5 separate regions of the Homo sapiens genome follow, and regions 2, 3, 4 and 5 are each linked to region 1. Evidence: promoter capture Hi-C in human tissues and cell types (Jung and others, 2019). All regions are on one chromosome and are shown on one strand. Each heading gives the region's core, a stretch centred on a gene start or on the middle of the fragment in contact. The rest is flanking DNA. Distances are from core to core; before and after follow the strand shown.

Region 1 (2,700 bases), core at 36-2,535:
TCTGGCCTTCCGTAGGCTGGGATGTGGGACCCTGGAAGAACCCCTGCCCCAGCCCTGGAGGTCTCCATTGACATATGAGGGTGCTGATGTCATGATCCTGACATCAATGACCTGTAGCTCCTTATGCCCTTCCCCCACAACCTGAGCATGACCCAGGGAAATGAAAACTCATCCCCTGCTCCCCTCCCCATGCGGTGTCCAGTTCGCCTCCTGGAATCTCCTGGACCCTGGGGACCTGACCTTTTCCGTCTCCTAGCCCCTGGGTTCAGATTCTATGACTGTTTAGAACCCCACCCCCAGCCATCTATCCCCAGCTGACTTATTTACCTTCCTTTCTCCATCTCTGTCATGGGCTGTGATTATCCTGACCCCAGCCAGGCCTCTGGCCCAGCACTAGGTCCTCCCTGGTGTCTCAGTCTCCCATCAGCCCTACTGTCCCAGGAGGACCGCCTGAGATCCCCTGAATAGTACTGAGAGGGGGAACGGGCCACTGAGCTGCTCCCTCCAGTCCTGGCACACCCTGTAGCACAACTCCAGGGGACACGATTCGGAGTCGGAATACAGTGTGAATACTGCCTGGAGTTTGTGATGACTGGCATTGGAAACTGGCAGGGTGGGATGGCTGTAGTAGGGAGGGGGGCACTGAGTCACCTGTCCTGCTGGAGGGAAACTAACTACCCTGGCACAGAGAAGTGGTGCGGGGAGTAGGGGAGTGGAGGCAGGAGACGCCTCCTGGAGGATTTCACTAGGCCTTGAAGGATGTGCCGAAGCCCACCGTGTGGGCTTCCTTTATAGACTCACCTTCACCAGGCCTTTTCGCCAACTAGGTGAGGGTTTCCAGGGTTGGGCCTGGGCCTCGTCAACAAAGCAAAGTGAGGTTATTCTTCCTGGCCACCAACTGGCAGGAGGAAGATGAAGCCCAGAAAGGGGCAGAGGTGGCTCTAGTTACACTGGCAATGCTGAGAGGACCCAGAGGAGTATCTCAGTCTCCAGTCTCTTTATCTTGCTTCGCACAACTCCTTGCTTGGTTCAGAGCCTTGAAGAGGCGGATACAAGAGGCCCTCTGGGCACCGCCGCCCAGTCCCGCGCAGCCCCCTGCAGTTCCCAGGGGCGCGAGAGAGGGCGACGTAGAGCAGCACCGCCCAGCGGCAGAGCGGCGAGCCCCTCCGCGGCTCGGGGTGAGTCGGGCGCGGGGCGCAGACCGCGCTCTGACGTCGGGGGCGGAGCGGCCGTGACGCGCGGGGGCGGGTCTGCGCACCTTCCCGGCCCAGCCGGCGATTCATTCAAAAGGCGCGCAGGCTGCGCGGCTGTCCGGGCGCTCGCCGAGCCGGGCCGCGGCGCCGAGTCGAACGGGGAGCCGAGCTGGAGCTGCCGCGGCGCAGCCAGGTAAGGAGGGCGCGCGGAGCGCCCATCCAGAGTCTGCTCTCCGCGGCCGGGCCAGCGGGATACGGACCCTAGTGGCGCCCCCTGCCTCCCCGTGTCTCTGAGGAAGTTCGCGGGCTCGGCGGATGCGGCAGCCCGGCCGCGCGCCCCCCCACCCCACTCCTCCCGCCTCGCGTCCTGTCCCGGCGCCTTCCGCGCACCGGCCACCGCCAGTCTCCGAGCCCCGTGACCTGCAGGTCCTCCGGCCGCGACTCCGGGCCGGCCCTGCGTGGTGGCTGTCGGGGGGCGCGCGGGGAAGCAGCGGAACTTGCGGTGTGAGGGGCCGGCGGGGCCCGGAGCGGTCCCCGGCCCGGGAAACTTGGACCGAGACCAGGTTGTGGTGCGGGCTGGACGGCGGCGCCTCGGCGCGGCTGCGGCGCGGGGCGGCCAAGGGGGGGTCTGGATGGTGTCAGCCCGTGACTGTGGGTGACACGGCGCGTGAGGCGGCCTGGCCGGGCGAACGTGTGGCTGGGACACTGGGCGGTGACGCCGGGCCGAGCGGGCGACACAGAGGGGCTCTGTGTGTGGGAGACAGGCAGCGTGTGTGCGTGTGTTGTGTGAGGGAAAGACCCGGGGTCACTGGGGTCACGAAGTGCGTGGCTTGGGGCGTGACCGGCGCAGGGCCAGGGCCACCCGTTACTGTGAGTGTGAAATAGAGGGAGAGGAGCCCAAGTGACTGAGAACGAGCCGAGCTCGCTGGCGCCATGGTGTGCGTGTGGGGTCAAGTGGTGTCAGTGTGTGTGTGTGTGTGTGTGTGTCTGCGCCTAGGGTGATGATGAGTAAGAGGCAGGAGGAGGAGGGACCGGACCTAGGACACCTTCCGGCAGATGTGGGGCGATGAGGAAGTTGGGGAGCCAGGAGACAAGGGTCTCCAGGACTGTCCCCACGAGGGCACCCCTCAGGAGTTCAGCTTGGTGAGGAGATGGACCCTGAGGGATAGGCCCTGGCTGAGGGAGAAAGCCGAGGCTGGGCAACATCTGGTGGGGTGGCCCAGATGGCAGCAGGGTAGGGGCCCTGTGGTAGTCTCAGCTTCCCCCCGCCCACCTGCATCCACACACTCACGCATCGAAGTCCCTACACCTGGCAAAGTTCTGCCCCTGTGTAATCTGTATTCTCAGCGGACCCGGACACAATCTTGTTCTCAGACCCCCCCGCCCCCCTCCCCCGCGCAGGCCTCAGTCTCCCCATCTGCACACTGAGGTGCTGGGCTTTGAATGGACTGTGAATCATCACTTTGGGATCCTCTATTGTTTTGGGTCAACTGCCTGTGTTCTCCCT
Region 2 (2,700 bases), core at 159-2,658, 380 kb after region 1:
AACATTTCCCCAGTAATTCCCTTTTGTACCACCATGAGACTCAGACGCTGCTTCATGTTGAAAAGAGAAAAAGGGGAGGTGAGATGAGAAAAATTCCAAGTAAAATGATCATGACATAGCATCTGGCAGAGATTGAAAAATCATCAACATTGCCAAAAGAATTGTCAGTGATGAAAGTCAAGAGAACAAAATGAGGTTTTCCGACAAGCCACAGCCCCATCTAACCTAAGGGGCAAAAATCTCCACTGCCGACGCTACCCCTTTCACCCCCAACCACCCCATGCTCAAGTCGTCTCCAATTCAGATGTTTCCTCTATGGCCCAGACTAATTTCCCACCCAGGTGAAAATCATTTAATTTTTTCTACTACCACCCCTTCCCACCTTCCACGACATCAGCACTTCGCAGGGCCAAGCCTCTGGGGAAAACAACGCCCAGATCCCACCCTCCTTGGCCAAGGTTGAAGAGGGCCCGCTCTCGGGAGTGGGGCTTCCCTGAGTGGGCCTCACAGAGCTGAGGAACTGGGAAAAGAGCAAGGAATAAGGGTGGGGCTCAAGAAAGGGGGCCGGGGTACGGGCAATGACCGAGACCGGAGGAAGAAAGGGATGGACAAGAGGCTGGGCGGGGTGAGGTCTGGGGAGGGAGGGCAGATCGACCGGAGATGGCCGGACTGCGGGGAACGGAGCCGGGGAGTCGAGGATTGAAGAACCCGGGGAACAGGGTAAAAACTCGGCCACTGGCGAAGAGCCAGTGGCACCGGGGGGCACATCGGGAAGGGCTGCGGTGGCAACGAGCGCGGACGCGAGGCGGGCAGGGAGCCTCCGCGGACGGAAGGGCCGCACCGGGGGCGGTGCGGGGACGCTGCGGCCAGCTGCCAGGAGTAGGGGAGCCACGCACTCACCGCTTTGCTCCCCCAGGAACACCAGCTTGAATTTCCTCAGCGGATTCCCGAAGTCTCCGCCCGTGGACATTGTGGAACTAGAGGAGCGGCCGCCGCCTCAGCCTAGAGACCTCCCGGACCGATGCTGCTCCAGCCAGCTGACGAAAAAGGCGAGCGGAAGGGCGGGCACCGAGCTCTCTCGGCCCCTGCAAGGCCCGGTGGAGGAGCCCGGCTGGAGGGCAGCAGGACTCTCCACAGACTGGCAGCCGCCGCCGCCTCCCGGCAGAGTAGCCTAGCACCGAGCGAGGCCCGCGGCTGGGAAGGGAAGGAGGGCGGTGTCGGCAGGAGCCAGGGGTGTCCTCTGGCTTCCCAAAGCTAGGGCCGTTCCCTCCTTCCGCACTCGGCTCCCAGACCTGGGGAAGAGAAGCTGAGGGTGGCGGAGCCGGAACCGCAGACGTATCTGGGACCTCTCACGCGCAGCGCCTGAGCTTCCACAGCTGCCGCCGCCGCCGCAGCCCAACCTGCTGAGTGCGCGAGCCTCTGGAGCGGCGCGGGGCGAGCCCGGGCGCGAGCCTGCGGCCCCGCCGGCCGCTGGCGTGCGTGCGTGCGTGCATGCGTGCGCGCCACCGCCATCGCCATCGCCTTCCTGGTTTGGACAGCTCTACCGGCTCCTCCCGCACGGCGGCGACGGGGCAGGTTAGGTTTCCACTGGCGTCAAAAGAAGCCAGGAGGAGGCGGGGCAAGCCAGGGATAAGTTAGTGGGAGGCTGGAGCCCTTACGTCACTTACATAATGAGCCAATCGGAAGGGGCTGAGGGCGAGCCCACACGCGAGTGAGGTGGCAGCGTGAGAGCGCGCGCAGCCCTCGAGCTGTGGAAAGCGGAGCACTGTGGCGGCCATAAGAAGTGTGGCGCCTCTCAGCCTGAGGGGAGGGGAAGGAAAGAAAGGGGAGGGGGAGAAGGGTGGGGCGGAGGCGGGGCCGGGACAAAGGTGGAATATGATCCCCCAAAAAGTGTGGGTGGGGTCCTATAGCCTTAAAATTTGTAATGGGAGCCTCTTTCCTGAGCCCTCAGCCGTGCCTCACAGTCCTCAGATCCCTTCTTCACCATTGCACACACCCCACCTTCTCCATCCTCTCATCATAATTCCTCACAGGCATCTTACTAAATAACATTCTCCTCCATTGCTCCCAGGAATGTTATAACTGCCAGAATCATGGCCTCCCAATTTTGCAGATGAGGAAACTGAAGCTTAGAGGGAGTAAATGACTTGCAAAATCCATAAAGCGGGCTGGGCGCGGTGGCCCACGGCTGTAATCCCAGCACTTTGGGAGGCGGAGGCGAGTGGATCACGAGGTCAAGAGATCGAGACCATCCTGGCCAACATGGTGAAACCCTGTCTCTACTAAAAATGCAAAAATTAGCTGGGGGTGGTGGCGCGCGCCTGTAGTCCCAGCTACTCGGGAAGCTGAGGCAGGAGAATCGCTTGAACCCGGGAGGCGGAGGTTGCAGTGAGCCGAGATCACACCACTGCACTCCAGCCTGGCGACAGAGCGAGACTCCATCTCAACAGAAAAAAAAAAAAAAAAAAAAAAAAAAAGCCGGGCGTGGTGGCTCATCCCTGTAATCCCAGCACTTTGGAAGGCTGAGTTGGGTGGATCACCTGACGTCAGGAGTTCCAGACCAGCCTTGGCCAACATGATGAAACCCCATCTCTACTAAAAATACAAAAAATTAACGTGGTGTGGTGGCGGGTGCCTGTAATCCCAGCTACTTGGGAGGCTGAGGCAGGAGAATCGCTTGAACACGGGAGGCGGAGGTTG
Region 3 (2,700 bases), core at 121-2,620, 410 kb after region 1:
TACGCCCAGCTAATTTTTGTATTTTTAGTAGAGACGGAGTTTCACAGTTTTGGTCAGGCTGGTCTCAAACTCCCGACCTTGTGATCCGCCTGCCTTGGCCTCCCAAAGTGCTGGGATTACAGGCATGAGCCACCGCACCCGGCCATGTATCTTATTAGATTGTATTTACCTGGACTAGACAAGGAAAGAAACTCTCTGGCTGCCAACCTGCCCTTTTGCAAACCTATAGTCACAGTCCCATAAAATAGATGAAGCACAGGCACGGAAATGAAACAGCTCACCACTTATATAACATTATGTTAACTAGGTACCTTCTTCCTGTCTCTGTTCCTCATCTGTGAAATGGGTATAATGATCCTCAGCCTCATAGGGTTATTGGAAAGACTAAATGAACCCATACACCCATAAAGAACCGACCTGGCACATACTAGCATTTGATTGATTTTTTTTTTCTTATTTAAAATTTCACTTCTAAAACCCCAATAGCATTTATTAGGCAATAATCAATCACTGTACTGGAGGAGGTATGCCTGGTCCATTATATTTCCAAGCATAATTAATTGTCGTATCTGTGTTACCTCAGTACTTTGCACACAATTCTGGTATTTCACTTACCATACTAGATACTAATTATTTGTTACTAGATACTAATTATTTTTTGCTATTATTTTGATTGAGTTCCTCAAGGACTGAGATCCTGACTAATTTATTCCAGCATCTAGCACAGGACGTGGAAATCTGACTTCTAAACTCAATTTAAGAGATGATTGGCTGGGCCTGGTGGCTCACGCTTGTAATCCCAGCACTTTAGGAGGCCGAGGCGGGCGGATCACCTGAGGTCGGGAGTTCAAGACCAGCCTGACAAACATGGAGAAACCTCATCTCTAGTAAAAATATAAAAATTAGGCGGGCGTGGTGGCGGGCACCTGTAATCCCAGCTACTTGGAGACAGAATTGCTTGAACCCGAGAGGCGGAGGTGGCAGTGAGCTGAGATCGTGCCACTACACTCCAGCCTGCGCAACAGAGCGAGACTCCGTCTCAAACAAACAAAAAAGTCAGATCTGTGCTAGACGCTGAAAGGAATTAATCAGACAGGATCTCAGTCTTTTAAGAACTTTCAAATACAGAGAAGAGGTGGTAACAAATCATTAGTGTATAATATTGTAAGCGAAAAATTAGAATTGTGTGCTAAGTACTGGGGTAACACAGAGATGGTAATTAATTCTTTCTGGAGAAACAGCAGTGAATGTGACAACCTGAGTGAGGGTGGAAAGCAGGAGAATTTCTAGACTCTGAATTTCAGAAGCTTCCGGAACTAAAATGATGTGGAAGTTGAGTGAGTCTCGGTGGGATATTGCTGCTGCACCTGGTCAAGGCCGTTCCTTCAGTGTTTTCAGACGCCCTGGGAACGCGGCTGCAGGGTCCGGTCTTCGGTTTGCACAGCTAGAGGCCGCGCAGCAGCAAAGGATGAGCGGAACCTTGGAAAAGGTAACGTAGATTCCACGCACGCGGGGCGCGGGGAGATGGCGGACGGTGCAGAGAGGGGAGATGGCGGAGGGTGCAGAGCGGGGAGGTGGCGGCGCGCGGACATCCGGGGATGAGACACTGGGGCGCCCAAGGTCCTTCCCAGCAGCACATGCGGCTGCCTGGCGTTGAAGGGGCTGAGCAGATTCCTTTCCACCCGGGGCGAACTCTGCCGAGCCGACCCGTGCCACGCCCACACCACATGCCACTCTCTCCACCCAGTTTCTGGAAAAGGGAGAGCTCTGCGATGGGAATCACGACACCAGGATACGGTCCCGATTAACTGTGTGACCTTGGGCAGGTCATTTTATATTTGCATTCAGTTATCAACTTCCAGAATTTTTTCTAAGAATGCAGTTTTGACTTGCTGAACTGATGAGGATGTGAAGCTACCTGGTAATAAGGAAACAGCAGTAATAAACTAGGTTTTTGTTCTTTTCTTTCTTTTTTTTTTTTTTTTTTTTTTGACGGATTTCGCTCTGTTGCCCAGGCTGGAGTGCAGTGGTGCGATCCCGGCTCACCACAACCTTCGCCTTCCGGGTTCAAGCGATTCTCCTGCCTCAGCCTCCTCAGTAGCTGGGACTACAGGCGCGGGACACCATGCCGGGCTAATTTTTGTATTTTTAGTAGAGACGGGGTTTCACTGTGTTGGCCAGGCTGGTCTCGAATTCCTGACCACGTGATCTGCCCGCCTCGGCCTCCCAAAGTGCCGGGATTACAGGCATGAGCCACCGCGCCCTGCAATAATTAACAACATTTTCGTTTCCAAAACCTTATTTAAGTGACTGTCATAAAACCGTATGAACCACTATAAATGTGTTCCTGGGCTTTCTCCCGTTCCCTTAACAGATTTAACAGATTTCATTTGTGCTCTTTCAATTGTATCATGCTGCTTAGATTAATGACTCATTTTAGCAATTTATATTAAAATTTTGTTTTAGGCATTAATTGTGGCAACTATATTTCCATGATTCATAGGTCAGCATGGTCGTTGCAGCTCATGGGTCTACCTGTGGTTACCTTGGGGCTGCCCTTGAATGTGTGAGGGCCCACGCCTCACTTCATCCTTTATGAAACAATTCACTTGTTCACCTTAGCCAGTTTGTAAGAATTTGGCCAAATATGGTGCCAAGATAATAGAAAAAAAAATCAGAAAGTTTCAAAATTCCATTGTT
Region 4 (2,700 bases), core at 109-2,608, 510 kb after region 1:
GGATATACTACATTTTGTTTATCCATTCATCAATTAATGGACACATATTTCTAGTTTTTGGCTATTATGAAGGAAGGAGATTTTGATGGCAGGATAGATGGCATGAGAACCAGCTGCTGTGGGGAATGGGAGGGGTGAAAGGATTACAAAACTGCTGAGTTTAGAAACATGAATTGGATTGGTGACAGTCGGCACAGTTGTGTTCTTTTCTGGAGCAGTACTCAGCAGCCTGCATGTAGGAATGTAGAAGGTAAGTGGTTGGATTGATCCTAGTTCTGCTATTATATAGAGAAAACCAAGGCTGAGGTCATTTTAGTGACTTCACAAATGTAGAGAAGTCAGCTGGGCAGGGTAACTCACCCTGTAATCCAAGCACTTTGGGAGGCTGAGGCAGAAGGATTGCTTGAGCCCAGCAGTTCGAGACCAGTCTGAGCAACATAGTGAGACTCTGTCTCTACTAAAAATAAAAATAAAAAAAATAGCTGGGCATGGTGGCATGCAGGCTACTCAGGAAGCTGAGGCGGGAGAATCCCTTGATTCTGGGAGATAGAGGCTGCAGTGAACCATGATCATACCACTGCACTCCAGCCTGGGTGACAGAGCGAGACCCTGTCTCAAATATTAAAAAAATACATATATATACATCCACAAATGTGGAGAAGTCATTGAGTGATTGGTTGAAATGATGCACCATGAGGGCCAGACTTCTTAAGGCAGTTGGTAAACACAATAGGGAATCATGGAGTGGGATAAAAAGTGAAGTTGCTTCAGTTCTGTTTTTGTGGCATCTTTCTGAAATAGTGCTTCATGATACTTCCCTGTGAAAAGCGTCTTTACTAGGTCTTCTCTAGGCCAAACTTCTACCCTAGACTTTGAGTTTCTCTGGGATTTATCCCTCAACTATCATTTCCATGACTGCTATTACCAAACTGGTGTATTAATTGATGAATCCTTCCTTCTTGTTCTTTTTGACTTTCTTTTATTCTTTTTTTTTTTTTTGAGACGGAGTCTCGCTCTGTCGCCCAGGCTGGAGTGCAGTGGCGGGATCTCGGCTCACTGCAAGTTCCGCCTCCCGGGTTCACGCCATTCTCCTGCCTCAGCCTCCCAAGTAGCTGGGACTACAGGCGCCCGCCACTACGCCCGGCTAATTTTTTGTATTTTTAGTAGAGACGGGGTTTCACCGTTTTAGCCGGGATGGTCTCGATCTCCTGACCTCGTGATCCACCCGCCTCGGCCTCCCAAAGTGCTGGGATTACAGGCGTGATATTCTTTTTTTTTGAGATGGAGTCTCACTCTGTCACCCAGGCTGGAGTGCAATGGCGTGGTCTCGGCTCACTGCAACCTCTGCTTGCCAGGTTCAAGGTATTCTCCTGCTTCAGCCTCCTGAGTATCATAGCTGGGACTACAGGCACGTGCCACCACACCTGGCTAATTTTTGTATTTTTAGTAGAGAAGAGGTTTCACTATGTTGGCCAGGCTGGTCTTGAACTCCTGACCTTGTGATCCACCCACCTTGGGCTCCCAAAGTGCTGAGATTACAGGTGTGAGCCACCATGCCCGGCTGACTTTCTTTTATTCTTGATATGCTCCTCCTTGACTTGGAGTTTTCTTTTCCCTATTTTCTTCCTAGCCAGCTCCTATCTTTCTTTGAGGCTCCTATACTCTCTAGAAAGCCCTCCCGGCCTGGTCGTGGTGGCTCACACCTGTAATCCCAGCACTTCGGGAGGTTGAGGTGGGTGGATCACCTGAGGGGAGGAGCTCAAGACCAGCCTGGCCAATATGGTGAAACCCCGTCTCTACTAAAAATACAAAAATTAGCCAGGTGTGGTGGCACGTGCCTTTAATCCCAGGTACTTGGGAGGCTGAGTCATGAGAACTGCTTGAACCCAGGAGGTGGAGGTTGCAGTGAGCTGAGATCACGCCATTGTACTCCAGCCTGGGCGACAAGAGTGAAACTCCATCTCAAAAAAAAAAAAAAAAAAATCCCTCCCACTCTTGTGTGAATCCATGATGATTTCTGCTTCTCTCCTGTAACTTCAGTTTGGCTCAACATTTATTTACTGAATAATAAATGAATGTAGCACCCTGCTAGACTTAAGGACTTCACAGTCTGTTGGGCAAGTCAGACATGTAAACAGTGTGTTATGGGCTGTTATAGACATGAATATATAAGGTGTAGAAGAAGAATGGAAACAGTTTTTAACTTCATTCTATCATCTGCGTGTGTTTATGTGTAGGATAGTATCTTACTTAGCCCATATCTCTGCAAAATCAGTATTCTACTTAGGCAAATTTTACAGGTTACTGAAGCTTAATTCTTTACTATGTATTATGTGTATATACTGTAGATAAATACATGTATGCATACTGATCTTCACCTTTCATCCTGGAAGAATTACATTTCACAGCCAGTTACATCAGGTTGAGATCACTCTAAAAGCCCTCTCTACAAATGCTGTATCAAATCTCTAAATCTTTGTTCTTAGCTTTTAGTCTTGAAAATGTATTTTAGTCAGGCCAGGCGCGGTGGCTCACGCCTGTAATCCCAGCACTGTGGGAGGCTGAGGCGAGTGGATCACGAGGTCAGGAGATCGAGTCCATTCTGGCTAACATGGTGAAACCCCATCTCTACTAAAAATACAAAAAATTAGCCGACATGGTGGCGGGTGCCTGTAGTCCCAGCTGTTCGGAGGCTGAAGC
Region 5 (2,700 bases), core at 50-2,549, 320 kb after region 1:
CATGCCTAGAATTTTTTTTTTTTTGCAGACACACACTCTCCCTATGTTGCCCAGGCTAGTCTTGAACTCCAGGGTTCAAGCAGTCCTCCCACCTTGGCCTCCCAAGGTGCTGGGATTACCGGGCATGAGCCATCGTGCCTGGCCTGATTACTTTTAAATTTTAAGTGAGATCCTGTCAAATCTCTCATGAAAATGGCTTCCTCTCTCACTGGGAATAAAATGCCAAATCCTCACTACTGCCCACATGGTCTTAAGGCCTCTGTTCTCCATAACTATCTCTGTGAGCTCTTTTCTTATCATATGCCCCTTCCTTCACTCTAGTGTAACCTTACTAATTTCCTTACTATTCCTTAAACATGACAAGTTCCTTTGAATTTGTCACTGCACTTGAAGCTTGGCATGCTCTTCCCTGGATGTATAAATGGCTCACTTTCTCAATTCCTTCAGTTCTTTGCTCAAATATCACCTTATCAGACAGGCTTTCCCTCCTTTTATAAGACATCAATATATCATAATTCCCTTCACCAGTATTCTTTATCCTTCTTACCCTACTTTATTTTTCTGTTTTTCTTTTCTTTTTTTTTCTTTTTGAAACAGTCTCACTCTGTCTCCCAGACTGGAGTGCAGTGGCATGGTCTCGGCTCACTGCAACCTCCGCCTCACTGCAACCTCCACCACCCAGGTTCAAGTGATTCTTGTGCTTCAGCCTTCTAAGTAGCTGGGATTACAGGTGAGCACCACCACACTCGGCTGATTTTCGTATTTTTAGTAGAGACGGGTTTCACTATGTTGGCCAGGCTGATCTTGAACTCCTGGCCTCAAGTGATCTGCCTGCTTCAGTCTCCCAAAACACTGGGATTACAGGCATGAGCCACTGTGCCTGGCCCCTACTTCATTTTTCTCTATAGAATCTATAACCTCCTTAAGGATTATATTTCACTAATTGTCTAACTCTCCATACCAGAATGTAAGCTCCATAATGGCACAGACTTAGGTATTTTGTTCCATTATTGTATCCCCAGTGCCTATAACATAACTAGGCATGCAGGAGGTGATCAACAAATATCTGAGTTAATTAATGACTGAATAAAACCTGATCAATATAATTTCTCTGTCAGTTCATATTCATTATACATATAGATTTCTGACCATTCAGTTATACTGAAGTCCTACTGTGGGCTGGGCATGGTGGCTCACGCCTGTAACCCCAGCACTTTGGGAGGCCAAGGTGGGCAGATCACCTGAGGTCAGGAGTTCAAGACCAGCCTGGCCAACATGGCAAAACTCCATCTCTACTAAAAAATACAAAAATTAGCCAGGCGAGGTGGAGCATGCCTATAATCCCAGCTATTCAGTAGGCTGAGGTAGGAGAATCACTTGAACCCTGGAGGCAGAGATTGCAGTGAGCCGAGATTGTGCCACTGCACTCCAGCCTGGGTGACAGAGTGAGACTCTCAAAAAAATAAATAAATAAAAATAAAAAATAAAGTCCTACTGTGTTAAGGATATGAAACACAAAAGGATAAATTGGGGTGAGGTTAAATTTGAGAGAGGCAGAATATAAGGCTTAAGATCTCAGATTTTGGAACTAAATAGACCTGGGCTCACATTGCAGTTTAAGTTATAATCTTAAGCAAGTTACTTGGCCTCTAAAACTTTGGTTTCATATCAGTGAAATGAATATACTTATCTACTTCATAGGGATATTGTGAGAATTAAGTTAAACACTTGGTACATTAAATGGATCTAGCAGATAGTATTTAGGCAATTCTAGGAAAGTTATATAATTTCTACGCTTCAGATTTTCTCTCTAAAATCAGACCAACAATAGCAGTTGACTCGTAGGATTGTTACATAGATTCCTTCTTGTATTCGACAAGTATCTAAGCACCTAGATATTGTATATAAAGTGCTTGCTAGGAAGGCAATATGAAAGATTTTAAGTGAACGTTCATGGCATAGTATTTACACTATGTGTGCTAGGTAGTCTTGTATCATACATATGTTAATTTTTCTTCTTCCTAGAAGCATCCCCAGTTACCTATCCAAATCAAGTACACTCAGTTCAGCTCAGATACTTTTTTTGCGATTTTTTTTTTTTTTTTTTTTGAGATGGAGTCTTGCTCTGTCGCCCAGGCTGTAATGCAATGGCACAATCTCAGGTCACTCCAACCTCCGCCTCCCAGGTTCAAGTGATTCTCCTGCCTCAGCCTTCCCAGTAGCTGGGATTACAGGCGCCCGCCACCACACCCAGCTAATTTTTTGTATTTTTAGTAGAGACAGAGTTTCACCATGTTGGTCAGGCTGGTCTCGAACTCCTGACCTCCGGTGATTCACCCACCTTGGCCTCCCAAGGTGCTGGGATTACATGTTTGAGCCACTGCGCCAGGCCGATAATGCTGTTTTTTAAACAAAGCATTCCTCAACCATTCTAACTATATGTGATATCATTCAATTAGTCAATAAACCTCTTTGTGCCAGCATTCGTTTTGCTTCTCTCCTTTTTAATTTTTTTGAATCAAGGGTCTTGCTCTGTCATCCAGGCTGGAGTGCAGTGGCGTGCTAATAGCTCACTGCAACCTCCAACTCCTGGGGTCAAGTGACGGTCCCATCTCAGGCTCTCTCAGGCTCCTGAATAGCTGGGACTACAGACACTCAACCAGAGCTAGGTAATTTTTAAATTTTTATTTATTTTTCATT

What was found. The method cuts DNA at HindIII sites, captures the fragments that hold promoters and counts their contacts. A contact is called where the count stands out against the background at its distance.
Region 2: the fragment with the promoter of RAB6A here is called in contact with the fragment with the promoter of RELT in region 1 in 1 of the 25 tissues and cell types used here (mesenchymal stem cells).
Region 3: the fragment with the promoter of MRPL48 here is called in contact with the fragment with the promoter of RELT in region 1 in 1 of the 25 tissues and cell types used here (IMR-90 fibroblasts).
Region 4: a contact is called between a fragment that was not itself captured here and the fragment with the promoter of RELT in region 1, in 1 of the 25 tissues and cell types used here (thymus).
Region 5: a fragment that was not itself captured here is called in contact with the fragment with the promoter of RELT in region 1 in 3 of the 25 tissues and cell types used here (H1 embryonic stem cells, dorsolateral prefrontal cortex and lymphoblastoid cells).

Annotation. Positions count from the first base shown.
Region 1 is chr11:73,375,114-73,377,813 of GRCh38, forward strand. RELT (RELT TNF receptor) reads left to right here and starts at 1,286. Exons shown (of 11, transcript NM_152222.2): 1 at 1,286-1,386. RefSeq lists silencers at 1,006-1,315, 1,346-1,635, 1,726-1,805 and an enhancer at 1,971-2,265. The HindIII fragment of the contact is 25,019 bases long and covers 1-2,700 here.
Region 2 is chr11:73,759,666-73,762,365 of GRCh38, forward strand. It overlaps RAB6A (RAB6A, member RAS oncogene family), which reads right to left and starts at 1,409. Exons shown (of 8, transcript NM_198896.2): 1 at 901-1,409. The coding sequence starts at 970. LOC124902711 (a long non-coding RNA gene) reads left to right here and starts at 1,493. Exons shown (of 2, transcript XR_007062775.1): 1 at 1,493-1,575; 2 at 2,072-2,700. RefSeq lists an enhancer at 560-1,060 and silencers at 1,357-1,666, 1,827-2,016. The HindIII fragment of the contact is 11,651 bases long and covers 1-2,700 here.
Region 3 is chr11:73,786,504-73,789,203 of GRCh38, forward strand. MRPL48 (mitochondrial ribosomal protein L48) reads left to right here and starts at 1,371. Exons shown (of 8, transcript NM_016055.6): 1 at 1,371-1,489. The coding sequence starts at 1,469. RefSeq lists enhancers at 1,305-1,364, 1,505-1,584. The HindIII fragment of the contact is 15,089 bases long and covers 1-2,700 here.
Region 4 is chr11:73,883,879-73,886,578 of GRCh38, forward strand. All of the region lies in intron 2 of PAAF1 (proteasomal ATPase associated factor 1), which reads left to right. Among named protein-coding and RNA genes, the nearest start is that of PAAF1, 8.2 kb to the left of the region's middle. The HindIII fragment of the contact is 5,400 bases long and covers 1-2,700 here.
Region 5 is chr11:73,696,761-73,699,460 of GRCh38, forward strand. All of the region lies in intron 6 of RAB6A (RAB6A, member RAS oncogene family), which reads right to left. Among named protein-coding and RNA genes, the nearest start is that of PLEKHB1, 52 kb to the left of the region's middle. The HindIII fragment of the contact is 4,915 bases long and covers 1-2,700 here.